Regions from separate parts of the Homo sapiens genome. Here region 1 is linked to region 2. The links are contacts of gene promoters, found by promoter capture Hi-C in blood cells and fetal thymus (Javierre and others, 2016). All regions are on one chromosome and are shown on one strand. Each heading gives the region's core, a stretch centred on a gene start or on the middle of the fragment in contact. The rest is flanking DNA. Distances are from core to core; before and after follow the strand shown.

What was found. Contacts are between HindIII fragments. The CHiCAGO score rates a contact against its expected background, and 5 or more counts as called.
Region 1: a fragment that was not itself captured here is called in contact with the fragment with the promoter of LY6H in region 2 in 6 of 17 cell types (endothelial precursors, naive CD4 T cells, non-activated CD4 T cells and 3 more); the score reaches 9.1 in endothelial precursors.

What each region holds. Positions count from the first base shown.
Region 1 is chr8:143,239,500-143,245,003 of GRCh38, forward strand. No RefSeq gene overlaps it. Among named protein-coding and RNA genes, the nearest start is that of ZFP41, 4.7 kb to the right of the region's middle. The HindIII fragment of the contact is 4,207 bases long and covers 1-3,558 here.
Region 2 is chr8:143,157,956-143,163,749 of GRCh38, forward strand. LY6H (lymphocyte antigen 6 family member H) reads right to left here and starts at 2,366. Exons shown (of 4, transcript NM_001135655.2): 1 at 2,243-2,366; 2 at 1,627-1,754; 3 at 848-967; 4 at 1-530. The coding sequence starts at 2,244. The coding sequence ends at 295. LOC124902035 (a long non-coding RNA gene) reads left to right here and starts at 1,914. Exons shown (of 2, transcript XR_007061136.1): 1 at 1,914-2,031; 2 at 2,842-4,966. The HindIII fragment of the contact is 16,430 bases long and covers 1-5,794 here.

The sequences.
Region 1 (5,504 bases), core at 205-2,704, 81 kb after region 2:
ACACCTGTCTCTGTGGGCTCTGTTCCTCTGATGCAACCCTGACGGATCCATTAGTATGACTGGAATGTCCTTGGGATCAAAACTCACTTTTTTTTCTTCTTTAGACAGAGTCTTGCTCTATCGCCCAGGCTGGAGTACAGTGGCACATTCTCAGCTCACTGCAACCTCGGCCTCCTGGGTTCAAGCGATTCTCCTGCCTCAGCCTCCCAAGTAGCTGGGATTAGAGGTGCCCGCCACCATGTCCGGCTAATTTTTTTTGTATTTTTAGTAGAGACGGGGTTTCGCCGTGTTGGTCAGGCTGGTCTCAAACTCCTGACCTCATCATCCACCTGCCTTGGCCTCCCAAAGTGCTGGGATTACAGGCGTGAGCCACCGCGCCCGACCGGAATCAAAACTTTCTAACTTCTAAAAGTTAGATTCTGGCTTCTAAAAGTGTGGCGCTGTTTTAGGATGGTTTTAGGATGGCTCAGTCCATCCAGTGGGAAGATTCTTTAAGCCCCTTGAACGTTTGGGCTGGAGAGAGAGTGAAATGAGGGCAGAGGTGCTGATTGGCCCCACACCAGTCACTGACAATGGCAGCTCCCGAGACGGCCATGGGTGCAGCCAGTGGGCACATTGCCCCCATTTTAAAATAACTTATAAATTACAAGCCAAGTTTAGCAAGTGGGTACTGCACTAAGGGCTTTGTGAGGACTTTTCACGTAGCCTTCACAATGACCCCACAGGGCAGGTGCTATCATCTTGCCCCATTTGACAGGAAATCTACTGACCATCCCAAGGCACACAGCCAGCAGTGGTGCTGATGTCCAGGCCCAGTGCTTTGACACTGTCGAGTTTCTTAAACCCTCTGAGCCTTCATTGTTTTATCTGCAAAGTGGAGACACCACCAGCAGTGAGTCAAGCACGAAACTAGGTGATTGATGCCTGTGCCCAGGATGCCGGGAGGATCTCAGCCACAGCTGTTGCCTGTGCCAGCCGCTGCGGAGAAGGATGCCACAGGCACAGGGCACCAGGGCGATGGGCTCTCCAGGGGCAGTGTCAGTGGCTCAGTCACCCACTGAGGCTGGTATCCCAGGCTCAATGCCCACAGGGGTTCCAGTGCAAGTCCTGGGCCCCAGGAGGACCCGCACCCCAGGGCTCATCAGTCAGCCAGTCAATCAGTCCACAGGCACTAGCTGAGCGCCCGCTGTCTGTGAAGCACCCTGGTGGAGCTGACGCTCTTATCCTTGGGCAGTAAAGAAGCGAACACTGCGGTTCAGGAGTTCAGCACAGCAGTCCTGGGGTCACTGCTAAGGTTCTCGTAGCCGCATTAAAAAGGGAAAAAGAAGCAAACGCAGGCCAGGCGCGGTGGCTCACGCCTGTAATCCCAGCACTTTGGGAGGCCGAGGTGGGTGGATCACCTGAGATTGGGAGTTCAAGACCAGCCTGACCAACATGGAGAAACCCCGTCTCTACTAAAAACACAAAATTATCTGGATGTGGTGGTGCGTGCCCGTAATCACAGCTACTTGGGAGGCTGAAGCAGGAGAATCTTTTGAACCCGGGAGGCGGAGGTTGCGGTGAGCCGAGATTGCACCACTGGACTCCAGCCTGGCGGACAAGAGCGAAAATCTGTCTCAAAAAAAAAAAAAGAAAAGAAAAGAAAACACAAAATCCCAGTGAGCTCTCTCTCCAGTGTCCTGCACAGACCTTCACAAAGTAAGGGCCACCCAGGAAAACTGCACAGAAGAGAGAAAAGGAACTGGCTGTGGGCCTGAGGTTGCTCTCAAAACATTTTCCAGAAAAAGAAAGTCCATCTGAGTGCCAAAATACAGAAAAGTGTCTACATTTTGGAAAGAAATTTAAAATGACTATGGAACAGGTGCAGCGGCTCACGACTGTAATCCCAACACTCTGGGAAGCTGAGGTGGGAGGACTGCTGGAGCCCAGGAGTTTTAGACCAGCTGAGGCAACAGAGTGAGACTTGGTAGCCAAAATAGTAAAAGACTGTGGGACACAGGAGGATAGTCTTGGGAAGGTAACGCAGGAGAGAAGAGGGTTAAAAGTTAGGGAGGAGTAGTCGGGTGCAGTGGCTCACCCCTGTAATCCCAGCAATTTGGAAGGCCAAGGTGGGTGGATCACCTGAGGTCACGAGTTCAAGACCAGCCTGGCCAACATGGTGAAAACCTGTCTCTACTAAAAATACAAAAAATTAGCTGGGCGTGGTAGTGGGTGCCTGTAATCCGAGCTACTCGGCAGGCTGAGGCAGGTGAATCACTTGAACCCAGGAGGCGGAGGTTGCAGTGAGCCCAGATTGTGCCATTGCACTCCAGCCTGGGCAACAAGAGTGAAACTCCGTCTCAAAAAAAAAAAAAGTTAGGGAGGTGCAGCCTTTGAAAGTCAGGTACTAAAGAGAAAAAGAAGCAAGAAGGGGAAATTAAGATGCTGAAAGACAAAAGACCTTTTTAAAAAGTCAAACATCGACCAGGCACAGTGGCTCACACCTGTAACCCAAGCACTTTGGGAGGCAGGGGCAGGCAGATCACGAGGTCAGGAGATCAAGACCATCCTGGCCAACATGGTGAAACCCCATCTCTACAAAAAATACAGAAATTAGCCGGGCACAGTAGTGCACGCCTGTAGTCCCAGCTACTTGGGAGGCTGAGGCAGGAGAATTCCTTGAACCCTGGAGGTGGAGACTACAGTGAGCCGAGATCACGCTGCTGCAGTCCAGACTGGGCGACAGAGCAAGACTCCATCTCAAAAAAAAGAAAAAAAAAATCAAACCTCACAGCACCCTTCTCCACTGACTCCCCTCACCCCCTGCAAAAAATAAATAAATAATAGAGAAATAAATAAAATAACAGGCACTAAGTAAAGAAACCATACCTTGTTACCCTGACATGAAAGGTCCCTCTTGGACTAAGAATCTCATAAAATAACTGAAACTTCTGTCCACAGACATGCTAAGGGGTAACTTCATCTATTTAAAACCACTATAAAAAGAAAGGGGAAAATGAAAAGATGATTTAGCTTATGAAAATTCCCAAAATAATGCCAGGTGTGGTGGCTCACACCTGTAATCCCAGCAGTTTGGGAGGCCGAGACAGGCGGATCATCTGCGGTCAGGAGTTCAAGACCAGCCTGACCAACATGGAGAAACCCTGTATCTACTAAAAATACAAAATTGGCCGGGTGTGGTGGCACATGCCTGTAATCCCAGCTACTTGGGAAGCTGAAGCAGGAGAATCACTTGAACCCGGGAGGCAGAGGCCGCAGTGAGCCAAAATCACACCATTGCATTCCAGCCTGGGCAACAAAAACGGAACTCCATCTCAAAAAAAAAAAAAAAAAGAAAAAGAAAATTCCCAACCCACCGACCCTGTGGGGCTGGACCCTACATAATATACTGCAAAAATCAGGGCTTCCAGGCAGAAACATCAAATAACTTTCAGGAGCATGAGAATTAGATGGGCCTGAAACTCCTCAAAATCAATAAAAATGAACATAGCAACAACGAAGCAGCATTTTCAAAAATCTCAAGAAAAGGGAGAAAACAACGAACTGTGCAGCCATTCAAGCTTTCCTTCAAGGAATTACAGCTTCAAGAGAGCAGTTTTAAACTTGCCAGAGCTCAGGGGTCCTGCAACTATAGGCCCATCAGGAGGAACCTCCTAGATGGGCTTCCTCCAACCACAAGCTGCTTACGGGTCAGCCGTAAGACCCACGGGGGTGATACATTGAATGGTAGACCCAACATAGAAAGAGAAGTGCAGTCGAGAGGGGAAGAACCATATGTGCTGTGTGTGTTCTGACAAAGTTGAAATGGCATGACTTCAAAAAAAACACCAGGAAGAGGAGGAGGAGTGGGAGGAGGAGAAGGGGGGGAGGAGGAGGGGGAGGGGGAGGGGGATGAGGGGGAGGGGAGGAGGGGGAGGGGGAGGAAGAAAAGGGAAAAGCTCCCGGGTGGTTGTGCAGGCAGTAGGGAAAAGTGAAAGGGCACCATTCAATCCAACAGGCCAGACAGTAAACCACTCAGGAGGAAAGCAGTTCTCTGTCCCTCTCTAAGCTAAGAGACCGAAGTGTTTGTCTCCTGTCCTCAGTCCTCTTCTCTGGTGGCTGTCCCCTGCAGAGCAGACTGGGACCCCACTCACTAGCAATAGGACTCCCACATCGGAACATAGGACTGTGACCCAGAGGTGCCCAGGCAGCCATGAGAGGCAGCCCGCCACCCAGAACAAGAGGCCTGGGCTTCCGGGCAGCTCCAGCCTTTGCAGCACGCAGGCAGGGCACAAAACAGGGATGTGCGAGAGAAATGAGGAGCAGAGACATGGCAGAGCCTGGGGCCCCCAGCCCCTCTTCAGAGAGGCTGCCTCTGTGGGAAGCTCTGCAGGAAAGGGGTCCTCAGCCCTTGGAGCTTCTTTCCATATTTACAGGGTAGCTGGAGCGGGGGGGTCTGGTGACAATGGGAGATTCCGGGCCAGGGAAACAGCCTCTGCCCACATATCACATACCAATGGTGTTGGCACCAAATGGAGTCTCTGGTGGGCCGGCCCAGCCACCACCACGCCTGAAGGGACTGGAGGGGCCACCTGGCTCATTTAGAAGGCAAGGGGCTGTCTCTTTTGAGATAGGGGAAGGACACCTTTCTCCTTCTTCTGCTTTTGTTTTTTGTTTGTTTGCTTTTGTTTTTTTTTTTGAGATGGAGTCTCGCTTTGTCACCCAAGCTGAAGTGCAGTGGCATGATTTCAGCATCACTGCAACCTCTGCCTCCCAGGTTTAAGCAATTCTTTTGCCTCAGCCTCCCAGGTAGCCAGAACTACAGGCACGTACCACCACACCCGGCTAATTTTTGTATTTTTAGTAGAGACAGGTTTTCACCATGTTGGCCAGGCTGGTCTCGAAGTCCTGACCTCAAGCAATCCACCCACCTTGACCTCCCAAAGTGCTGGGGTTACAGGCATGAGCCACTGCGCCCACCCTGCCATTCTTATTCTCAGTCTTATTCTCTCTGTCCCAGCCCCATCAGTCATCAATTGCTCAATAAATATGGATTAGGCACCTGCTATGGGCTATGTGTTGGCCCCCGATAATACAAAGATGAAAAAGACAAGCCCTGACCGAGGGTCATGTGCAGCATGTAACCTGTATGGACAGCTACCCACGCAGCCTTGGCCTAAGGCTGGCAGGGGCGAGGCCGGGGCTGGCACAGAGGAGCTCGAACAGGTGGAGTCTTAAAAAGCAGGAAAGGGTCTGTCAGGCGGAGGCGGAGCGGGGGTGTTCAAGGCCCAGGGTTGAGGCATGCAGCCGATGCTGTGTGGCAGGGCAAGCACTTGCTGCTGAGTCTCCTGGAAGGGGAAAGGGTGGTGAGAGGGGCGGCCTGCAAGTCTGTGCAGGCCCCTTTGCAGCTGCTAAGGGGGCCCAGACCTCATCCTGCAGGACAGGCGTGAAGCTGGGAGGGCCACTGTGGGTTTGCCCGGTAAGTCAGTCCCTCCAGCTGCTGTAGGAGGGGTGGACAGGGGAGC
Region 2 (5,794 bases), core at 1,116-3,615:
CCTTCCAGCTGGGCTGTTGCTTCACTTCCCCTCCGGGACCTGGGGGTCCCCCCCCACCCTCATCCCCAGGCCTCCTGCCCAGATGGCCTGGTTTCCTGGAGATGTCCAGCTGCCTGGGACTCAGAGCTGGCGGAGAGACAGGGAGGCTTCACGTCGGGGGAGGAGTGAGAGCCACAGGCCACAGCCACGGAGCTGGGCCAAGGCTGCCCCCAGCCCCAGCCACGCCAGGCTGGGGAGAGGGCAGCCACAGGCTCAGGGGAGCAAGCTCAGAAGCCCCGTGGGAAGGAGGAGACATCAGGGCCCAGCCCAGAGGAGGGCAGGCCCCAGGCTGAGCAGGAGCCCCCCGGCCAGGGCCCAGGGGCTGTGCCCTGCCCCTGCCGCCCCATTGCACAAATCCTTCTCGCAGCAGTCCACGTCGACCTTTAAGATCCCAGAGTTAATAAACCCCATCAGATAGTCTGAGAAAAAGTGTCGCTTAACGAAGTCACAGGAGGAGGCACACATCTTGTTCACCGAGTGATCCTTCCTGCCTGGGAAGAGAAAGCGTGGCCTGGGACGGGGGCTCCTCCTGGGCCCTCTCTGCCTCATCCCGAGGACCCAGCCCAGGCCCCTCCGGGTCAGCTCGGGGCCCCAGTAGGCAGGGCCGAGTCCCTCCACCCTCCCACGCTGGCCTCAACTAGATGAAAAGGGCCACCAAGGAGCCAGGGGGGGACAGCAGGACAGTATCCTGCCTGCCGCCCCACGCTCTCACTCTCGTCCCAGGCCAGAGGGGCTCCGAGGACACCTCTGACCTCTCTCAAGAGCCTGGCTTTTAGCACATTCCCCACCACCCTAAGTCCCAACTTACTGCTGCTGGGATCGGTGATTCGGACACTGGCACACACCGTGTCGGACGGCTGGCACTGCTTTGGGGTGCAATGGCTGGAGTTGGTGGTCAGGGTGCAGTCCTGGCACCACAGGCCATGAGCTGGGCAGGGCATGGGGAGGAGGGTGACCAGAGGCACTGGGGTCCAAACCAGGCAGCCCCCTGCGCCCCCCACCCATCCCCCTGCTGCAGGCACTCCTGGGAGAGCCCGACCCCACGGGAGGGAGCAGGCCCCCATGACCCCTGGAGGGGGAGCAGAGGCCCTGGGACAACTGTGCCCCATCCTGGCAGTTTGAGGGGAGCCCCTATGGCCCCTCCCTGGCCCCCATGCACGTGCGTGCACACACACACACAAACACACACACGGGCTATACAGACCCCACACCGACAGTGCCCCCCTCACACTCCCGCCCCGCCTCACATATCCCCCCCAGAGGTCCGTGGGTTCCAAGCTGTGAAGGACCAAACTGGATTTGAAAGGAGGCCCGGGAGGCTCTCAGAGGTGACGGATGACCAAGGGCTTCCGTGCGGGGCCAGCCGCCCACCAGTTCCAGGCCCTGGAGGAAGAGCGCTGGAGAGAGCCCAGTGCCGGGGCAGAGGGGCCGAGGGCCGGGCTGGGGTCGCAGGGGTCCCGGAGGGGGCGTGGGCTCTATGCGAAGTGCGGTGGGAACCGTCAGAGGGTGGCAGCCCCACACCCGGCTCTCCCGCGGCGCCTCGGGCTCTCCCAGGCACCTGACCCAGCCCGCGGGCCCCCTACTCACCGGGCGCCGAGCACAGCAGGACGGCCAGCAGCGCCAGGCCGAGGCCCTTCATGGCTGCAGGCAGCATGCTCCGGGTGGGCCTGGGGGCGGCGCGGGGGCTTGGGGCGCGGGTCCTCTGGGGCGCAAGCCTGGAGGGGAGAAGCATCGGTCAGGAGACCCCAAAGACCCTCTCCTTTCCCAGCCTCAGGATGCAACCTTCTCCCCGGAATCCAAGGCCGGGGTCCGCCCGGAGCTCGCAGAGCCCCACCCCCAGCCCCTTCTCCAGAGCGTCCGCCGTCACAGCATCCCCGCCGGGAGACGTCTGGCCTCTGGGGCGAGGTGACAGCTCGAGACGCCTCCGCCCCGCGCCGGCACCTGTGTGGGGGAGCGGATGGGGGGCGTCCTCTTCTCCCCGGGGAGCTGCAGGTGCGTCCGGACAGGAATGAGCGGCAGGGGCGGGAGCGGGTGGGACCTGCCACTGGGGGGAGGGGCGCGTGCCAGGTCCCCACCCCCACCCCTGGGCTGGGGGGCCGGGAACCCCGGGCCGAGTCCCCTCCCTTGGCCTTCCGCGCGCGCCTCGGCGCTCACCGCGGATGGGGCGTGGAGCGCGGGCCTCGGGGTCGGGGGGCTCACTCACATCCCGGGGGTGTCCGCACTCCGGGCTCGGGCGGCGTGCGCGGCGCGGGGAGCTGTGCCCTTCGGTCTCCCTGCGGACCGGAATCCGGGCGCAGCCTCGTCTTTCGGGGAACGCAGCCGCAGACGCGGACCCCGCGCGAGGGGCGGGGCGGAGCCGGGGCGGGGGCCGCGCGGGGGGCGGGGGCGGCTGGGAGACGCGCGGGGCGGGGGGCGCCCGGGGCTCGCGGCCCCCACGCAGGTAGCTGGCCCGGGCCCTCCGCGCCCCCTTGCTGGCGCGCGCGCTCCCTCGGGTTCCCGCTCCCTCCCTCGCGGCGCCCCCTGCTCCTCCCCAGCCTCCGCGGCCCCCTACCCAGGCGTGGGCAGGATCCCTTCCCCCTCTGCTTGGCTGAGATCCCCTTGGAATTTCTCGGAAGAACGTTTACTGCGAAAGGAAGCAAAATGCACAAAGACGCAGAGAGGGGGAGGTACCCGGCGCGGCGCCACGCGCAGGTCCGGGTTCGCAGACCCCTGGGGTCAGACTCCCGCCCTGGGGCCCCGCCCTCCCCCTCCTCCCCGCCCCTCCCCAACCTCATACCCGTTTCCCCGTTTCCCCGTTTCCAGTGGCTCCAGGCCGTTCTCCTCCCCTGAGCATCCATGAAGACCCCCACCAGAAGCCGCAGCCCCAGGGGCTTCTGTCGCCAAATACTCCCACACTCGGAGGTAAAGGTACAAATCCTGGCCAGAGCATCCGAGCCTTGGACCCGTTTCTCGGCTTCCTTGGCCTTCCCGCCCTGCCCTCCAGCTCCCTAAAAGCTGTGCCTTTGCACGTGTCCCTGTGCCTGAAATCCGCCTCCCCGGGGCACTGGGGAAGCCCCGATCTGCCATCGTGCCTTTGGTCCTGCTCCCTTTCATTTGACCTGAAAATGTTTACTGCATGCTCCCTGCTGCCCTAGCCCTGCCCTGAGCCCTGGGAAAGGGCATGAGGAGAGAGACCTGGTTTCTGCCCTCCTGACTCTCCCCTTGGACAAATGGTGATGCCTACTGCAGCATATCTTTGCAGGATGTGACAGAGCTAACATTTATTGAGCATGTACTATGGATTCCACCTGTTCTAGACACTTCATATTTATTATCTCCTTATAGTCTCACCACAGCCCTGCTGTGCAGATAGTATCATTTCCATCTCACAGATGAGGAGACTCACACGGAAAGGCGGCGCTCCCTGCTCGGGGTCACACAGTGACGCAGGTGACAGGTGACCCAGCTGAAGTGGGAACCCAAGCAGCTTGGGCTACAGGGACTGCACACCTCCGCTCCATTGTGGCTCCAGAGGGGTGGAGGCAAGGACGAGATGGACAAGAGACCACCACAGGAGCGTGCTTTGCCTCAGGGTCAGGGAGAGCTTCTCCCAGGACCTGATACTTTAGCCGAGAACTGAATGAGGAGTTGAGATTCATAAGGTGCAGAGGGCAAGAGCTAGATCAAGGTTCAAACACAATTCTTTTCAAAACATACAGAGCTCGCAAGAAAGTAAAAGAAATCTGAGTCCATAAAGAAAGAAGTAAATAGAATAATGGACTCCCAAAGTCTGCCCACTGAGCAGGAGGCAGATGTGAAACTCACAGTGGTCCTGGGCAGACCTGGACCCCCACGGGGTCTGAGGTCCCGGAAGCAGAGCCTGAGGCAGGGATTCCAGAGCAAGCCCTTTGGTTGGAGGTGGGGATAGCAGCCCTGGGGAGTGGGGAAGTGGTCCAGGGTGGGGAAGGAGGCTGGCAAGCATGTGGTACTCAGCAACCCCCCGCAGTGGGGAAATGGAGCCTGACCCCAGAGAGGTACTCTGGGAAGTGGTGTAAACTGTGAGCCTCAGGTGAACTCACCCAAGGGATGAGGGAACAGGTATTTCACAGCGACACCCAAGAGTCATTGATTGAGGGCTGCCCCGAGGGATGCTTTCTCCTGCACCCTCCACTTGGCACCCACACAGAGCCCTCCGGGGAGCCAGGGTGGTCCCAGGTCAGTAGCATCCCTGCTTGCAAAAGCAAAACCAACGATGAATACTCTGGAGAAAGCAAGCCCCAACTTAGGGACTGAGGTTCCCACAGATTTAACTGAATCAAATATGAGTTCAAAATGAAAAATCAGCACATGTCTAAAGAAAGCAAGCCTCCAAGTGAGACTCAGCTGACAGTGACGAGCAACAGATTTAAATCACCACAAACTTTCTAAATGGAAAATATCAAATATAGGATATAAAATTAACCTATTTGTTATGCTTAAGATATATTAAAATAAGGAACAAAGCACTATGAAACCAATCACCATGCTTATCAGAAAAAAATAGAACCTCTAGAAATGAAAAACTTTTCATTGAAATGAAAAGGTCAGCAGAAACCTTGAAAGAATTACGGTAACTGAAAGAAGCCAGTCACAAGAAAACACATTGTGTGGTTTTCTTTTTATGAAATGTCCGGAATAAACAATCCAAGAGAGACAGAAGGTAGCTTAGTGGTTGCCTTGTGCTAGAAGGGTGGGATAGGGGAATCAGTCCTCCTTAGGGACTGGTAATAGGCACTACTAATAAATAAAGTGATAAAAGCACTCATTTAGGAGTGATGAAAATGTTCTAAAAATAGTGATTATGGTCACACAACTCTATGAATATACTACAGACCCCTGGCTTGTATATTTAAAAGGGTAAATGCTATGGTATGTGAATGATATCTCAATAAAGGTGTTTAAAAAAATACTCAGCAAACAGATTACGCAGCAAATTAAACACAACTGAAGAGGGAATTCATAAACTAGAAGATAAATCTTTAAAAAATTACCAAGAATGTAGCACAAAGGATAAGGAAATAGAAAATAGGGAAAATAAGAAACATAAAAGATGGTGTTTTCCTGATGCCCACTTAAGTCTGAGCAAGAAAAGAAGAAAAGAAAAAACTAAAATAAAATAAAACAAAAAGATGGTGTGCAGAGAGCTTATGGAAGTCTGGTTGAAATCTCAAAGGAAAGAGAGTCAATCATTGAAGAAGTTATGCCTGAGAATATTTCAGAACTGATAAAAAATAAGTATGCACAGAGAGGCACAACATGGACTAAATAGAATAAAGAAAAATAAAGTTTAGATGACAGAGTGAAATTGCAGAAGACCTTTAAGCCAGCCAAAAAGAAAAGGAAGATCAGCTCCCAGGAAACAGCAATAAGATTGCCAGCAGAATTCCAGGAGCCCCAGTGACAGCCAAAGGAGAGGAAAATCGGATCTGTAAAGGGCTCAGAGGGAAATAACTGTCACTAAGAACTTGATATATTTTCCAAAAATAAGTGTAAAATAGAATTTTCAGAAAATTAAAAGTTTAGAAAACAACTCAATAGCAGGAAAACAAATAGGCCAATTAAAAAATGAGCCAGAAGCAGAATAAACCTTTCTCAAAAGAGGGCATACAATGCCATCAGGTGTATGGAAAAATGTTCAGCATTATAATCATCAGGGAAATGCAAATTAAAATCACAAGGAGAGATCACCTCCTGCCTATTAGAATGCCTGCCATCAAAAAGACAGAGATAACAATTT